Regions from separate parts of the Homo sapiens genome. Here region 1 is linked to region 2. Evidence: promoter capture Hi-C in human tissues and cell types (Jung and others, 2019). All regions are on one chromosome and are shown on one strand. The core of a region is centred on a gene start or on the middle of the fragment in contact, and the rest is flanking DNA. Distances in the headings are between cores, read along the strand shown.

Region 1 (2,700 bases), core at 200-2,699, 61 kb after region 2:
GCGGGTGCCTTAGTCCCAGCTACTCGGGAGATTGAGGCAGGAGAATGGCTTGAACCCGGGAGGCGGAGCTTGCAGTGAGCCGAGATCGCGCCACTATACTCCAGCCTGGGCGACAGAGTGAGACTCTGTCTGGAAAAAAAAAAAAATATGTTGGAAGTCCCCTGGGAGCCCACCTTCCCTAGGCAACTTCCCAGAAGCCACGTCACTCTGGATGCCTTTTCTTCCCCCTTCTCAGCCCAGAGCGTCTGAGAAGGTCACCCTGTGCTATCCTTGAGTAAACACTTCCCTTTCCAGTAACACATGAAACCACAGCCGTTTTCCATAATACAAAGGACAGCTCTTCTCCTCCCCACCCTCACAAACGCCTCTCTTCTTGTGCAATCATTTGTTCTCATCCAGAGATAACTTCAGGGCTGGGCACGGTGGCTCACACCTGTAATCCCAGCACTTTGGGAGGCTGAGAGGCAACAAGAGCAAAACTCTGTCTCAAAATAAATAAATAAATAATGAGACTCAGAAAATATGATTAAGGGCCAGGCGCAGTGGCTCACGCCTGTAATCCCAGCACTTTGGGAGGCCGAGGCAGGCGGATCACGAGGTCAGGAGATTGAGACCATCCTGGCTAACACGGTGAAACCCTGTCTCTACTAAAAATACAAAAAAATTAGCCGGGCGTGGTGGCGGGTGCCTGTAGTCCCAGCTACTTGGGAGGCTGAGGCAGGAGAATGGCATGAACCCAGGAGGCGGAGCTTGCAGTGAGCCGAGATCGCATCACTGCACTCCAGCCTGGGCGACAGAGCGAGACTCCATCTCAAAAAAAAAAAAAAAAAGAAAAGAAAATATGATTAAGTGTAGGGTTTAATCAAGCCCAAAGCTTGAGGATGACCACCTGGGAGCATAGATTGAAGTTGCCCTGAATATACACTTCAAGCAGGGGCCAAGGCAAGCAGCTCTTGCAAGTGAGCTTTTGTTTGTTTGTTTGTTTCTTGGAGAGAGGGTCTCCAAAACTACAAATAAAAATTAGCTAGGAATGGTGGCGCACACCTGTAATCCCAGCTACTCAGGAGGCTAAGGCAGGCGAATTGCTGAAACCAGCAAGGGCAGGTTGCAGTAAGCTGAGATTGCACCACTGCACTGCATCCTGGGTGACAGCAAGACTCTGTCTCAAATTAATAAAAAAAAAAGAGAGAGAGAGAGATAACCTCAAGAGCTTCCGTATACACACTGGTGCAGAAGTAAGGAACAAAACAGCCAAAGCCTCTGTCTTCATGATGCGTGAGCCACCAAGGAATAGTTGGCCAGAGTCGGCGGTCAGGAAAGTGCCCTTGACGAAGTGGGGCTTGGAGTGGGGTCTGGAGAAGGAGGCCAAAGCAATCCAGGCACAAAATCACCAACCAAAACCCCAAAGTGGGTGGAGGCAGAGACTGAGGAGGGCGTGGATGGGGAGCATGTGGAGTGGCCAGGGGAGGTGGCCATGGGGAAGTGGTGGGCTCGGGCCCTGAGTCACTATTCTAACAGCTTGGAGGGCGGCCAGGAGGATGTGGGGAGGCTTGTTGGATGCTCCACGATGGTCAGGGGAGAAGGCGGTGGGAAGGGAGAGCTGGGAAGAAGAGGAGAGTCAGACCGTGTTGAGAAGTTCAGAGGTGGATACCCAGGTCCAGAAAGCAACAGAAGATGTGAGTCTGGGTGGGGGACACACATCATAAGCATGAGCTGCTATTCTTCCTGGAGTTTTGTTTTTGTGATTTTTTTCCATGTTTTCCAAGAGAATGAGGTGGAAAGGGTATAAAAAAAAGAAACGGCTTTGAGATTTTCTGCCTTTATCACACTTCCAGTCATTCAATCATCTAATGGTGATTACAGGAAAAGGAACAGGGGGCCTTTCCAGCTGGACCTTTGAACCACAGTACTCAGTTACTCGCTCGGCCTTGATTTGCTTTTTTTTTTTCCTTTTTTTTTTTTTTCTTTTGGAGACAGAGTCTCACTGTCACCCAGGCTGGAGTGCAGTGGCACGATCTCGGCTCACTACAACCTCTGCCTCCCAGGTTCAAGCAATTCTCTTACCTCAGCCTCCCGAGTACCTGGGATTACAGGCACCTGCCACCACGCCCAGCTAATTTTTGCATTTTTAGTAGAGATGGGGTTTCACCACGTTGGCCACGCTAGTCTAGAACTCCTGACCTCAGGTGATCTGCCCACCTGGGCCTCCCAAAGTGCTGGGATTACAGGCATGAGCCACTGCGCCCATCCTAATTTTTGTATTTTCAGTAGAGATGAGTTTTCACCATGTTGGCCAGACTGGTCTCAAATTCCTGGCCTCAAGTGATCCACCCTCCTCAGCCTCCTAAAGTGCTGGTATTGCAGGTGTGAACCACCACGCCCGACCAGCTTTTTTTTAAATCTCAGCCTCCTCTAGGCTTTTGGACCCTGTCTCTGCATCTCTGGCAGGGCGAAGAGACAGTATACCGAAATGGCCAGGCCAGGCGCCTGTAACCTCAGAGCTTTGGGGAGCCGAGGTGGGAAGATGGCTTGTGCTCAGGAGTTTGAGATCAGCCTGGGCAACATAGCAAGAACTCATCTCTACAAAAAAATTTAAAAATTAGCCGGGCATGGTGGTGCATGCCTATGGTCCTAGCTACTCTGGAGGCCAAGGCGGGAGGATCACTTGAGCCTAGGAGGTGCAGGCTGCAGCAAGCTATG
Region 2 (2,700 bases), core at 104-2,603:
GTCCCAGCTACTTGGGAGGCTGAAGTGGAAGGATTGCTTGAGCCCAGGCGGTTGAGGTTTGAATGAGCTATGATTGCGCCCACTGCATTCCCGGCTGGGCAACAGAGCGAGACCCTGTCAAAAACAAAACAAACAAACAAAAAAAACGTTGGTCTCCTGTATGACCAATGGATAAAGTAACCTTGACCAGTCTAATAACTCCCAGGCTGACCTGTAATCCAAGCCTTCTCTGTATGTCTGAGCAGGCAAAGCCCAGCTCCAGGGCTACCTCAACCCCCAGGCTGATCAGAAGCTTGGGTAACCTCTCCCAGTGTGGCCAGCGACCCCCCACCCTCCCACGTTCTGACCACTGTCCTGGGCAACTAGTGACATCTAGTGGGGGATTTTGTCCCAGTCTGACCTGGCCTGTAGGGGCCTTGGGCAGTCGGACCTGTGACCCACGCTTCCTAGCAGTGGCTGGACTCCTCCCCCTTCCCGCAGGTGCCCTGGCCTCTTCCCCTGCCCTCCTCACCTGCTCTGGCCAGTCTGACTCCTCCCTTCCCCACAAGGTTGGGAGGGAATGAAGGAGAGAGCGGGAAGGAGGAAGGGAGGGTGGCATTCCTGGGATTCCCTGGATAGGGGGAAGAGTGGGAGGGCCTTCCATGGGTGAGCAAGCAGAGAGGGCACCCCGTACCCCACCCCCAGCCCCATCATCGAAGCGGCCTAGGAGGACCTGGATTTGAAGACCATTGAAAATAAGAGATTAAACCGGTTGATTCCAGGCTACTGGTCAGACGAGGAAAGCAGCCCAGAGCACTGACCACAGGGGAAAACATCTCCGGGCATACTGGGAGCAGCTGCTGGGGGCCACTGGTCAGGCTGCGGGGGTCACTGGTTGGACTGGGAGAGGCCAGTGCAGGCCACTCGGACGGCACGCTTGGGGCCATTAGTTACACTGGGAGAGGCCATCGCAGGCCACAGGTTGCAGTGGGGTCCTCTGGTTAAAATCGACGATGCCAGCCCAGGCTGCTGGTCACAGTGGGGACGAGTCCCCAAGGCCCCTGGTCAGAATAACGAGGAGAAGGTCCGCGATTGCCTGGTGAGATCCCAGCTCGGGTCACTGGCTACGCTGGTCGATCAGGCCCCCCGCTGCAGGCGCTGGTCAGTAAGCCCGGACAGCTCTAGGCTTGGGGGCGGACGAGCCCCGAGCCTGGCCCCGTGCACTGGGAGGTCCGCTCCGGGCAGTGGGAGGTCCTGGCCCCGCGCCCGGGCATCGGGGGACGAGGGGGGCCTGGAGGGCGGGGCGGGGCGGGGCTGCCGGGGGCGGGGCCTCTGGCTCCCAGCCCCGCAGCGGCCGAGCTGCAGCCCGGGCTCAGTCTCCGCCGCCGCCGTGAACATGGAGCCCCCGGACGCACCGGCCCAGGCGCGCGGGGCCCCGCGGCTGCTGTTGCTCGCAGTCCTGCTGGCGGCGCACCCAGGTATGGCTCGGGCTGAGGGCAAGGTGGGACTGGGGAGAGGCCCCTGGGGACCCCGGGAAAGCGAGGAGAAAGGGCTTTACCCTGACCCCAGGAAGCAAAATGTGGGGACCCCAAGGAGGAGGGATATGGGAGTGTTGGAAGGTACGCCTTCCAGTGAGAGAGATCTGGGGACAGCCAGGCAGGAGAGCTGGGGATACCCAGGCGGTGGATCAGAGACAACCAGAGAAGTCAGCCCCCTTCCCACTCAGCACCCTGGAATCTGGGTCCCACCTGCCTCCTCCCTCAGACCCTGGAATCTGGGCCCCCAGCCCCTCTTTCCTCAGACCCAGGAGTCCAGGCCTCCAGTGGCTAGAATAGCTTCCCCCAGGGCACAGAGGATCAAAACCCCAGGGCTCTCTCCCTCAAAGGTCCTCAAGTTTTGAGAGGTCCAGGGACCCCTTAGAGAAGCGAGGACCATGTGTCCCCACACCAGCGATCCACATGTATTTAGGAGTTTCCAGAGTCCAGTATAAAGAACCCGCCTCCCTCAGGAAAGGGCTGGAGCACCAGCCCCGGGCAGTGACAGTGGAACAAAGTGTTTCCAAGTGACAGGCCCCCTTCCTGGGGCCTCAGCTACATTTACACACCTGCATGAGGATAGAAGGAGAGGAGGCCGGGGGCTGGGGGGTGGGGGTGGGGGTGCTGGGGACAGAGGGACAGAGAGATGAGAGAGATTGGGGAAGAGAGAGGAACTCTCTGCCTCCACTTGTCTGCAGATCAGACCCAGCCTTAGGCACCAGCCTGGACCCCGTCACCCCTCCCTGGGGACAGGCTGGGGCCAGAGGTGAGCGCTTGGGAATCCAGGCCCCTGGCACACTCATGGTCAACAGTGGGTCCCCAGGGGTAGGGCTGGGCCAGATTGAGCAGAGAAGGGAAGGGAGTTTCTAAGAAGCACTGAGAGCTGATGCCAGGATGCCAGCCCAGAGGGTGAGGGAGGGTGGTGGTTTTTCTACAATAACTACTCCACCAGGCCCCAGCCTCCTCTTCCCTCTGATCCCAGGAGTCCAGGTGCCCAGCTTCCCAAGATCCTGGGCCTCAACCTTATCCTTTTGCAAGATGACTCGACTTATCCCGTTTGCTGTTGTATCAAACTGAGGGGGGCCAAGAGGCGGCTGGGGGCTCTGGCTCCAGGCCGGGCAGGTCTCAGCCAGCCTGTCCCTCCCACATTCCTGAAACCTGCCCAGCCCTGTCCCCCCTCACCGCC

What was found. The method cuts DNA at HindIII sites, captures the fragments that hold promoters and counts their contacts. A contact is called where the count stands out against the background at its distance.
Region 1: a contact is called between a fragment that was not itself captured here and the fragment with the promoter of BCAM in region 2, in 1 of the 25 tissues and cell types used here (spleen).

The regions. Positions count from the first base shown.
Region 1 is chr19:44,868,780-44,871,479 of GRCh38, forward strand. The region is part of intron 2 of NECTIN2 (nectin cell adhesion molecule 2); the gene reads left to right. Among named protein-coding and RNA genes, the nearest start is that of TOMM40, 21 kb to the right of the region's middle. The HindIII fragment of the contact is 9,277 bases long and covers 1-2,700 here.
Region 2 is chr19:44,807,750-44,810,449 of GRCh38, forward strand. It overlaps BCAM (basal cell adhesion molecule (Lutheran blood group)), which reads left to right and starts at 1,354. Exons shown (of 15, transcript NM_005581.5): 1 at 1,354-1,457. The coding sequence starts at 1,376. The HindIII fragment of the contact is 22,699 bases long and covers 1-2,700 here.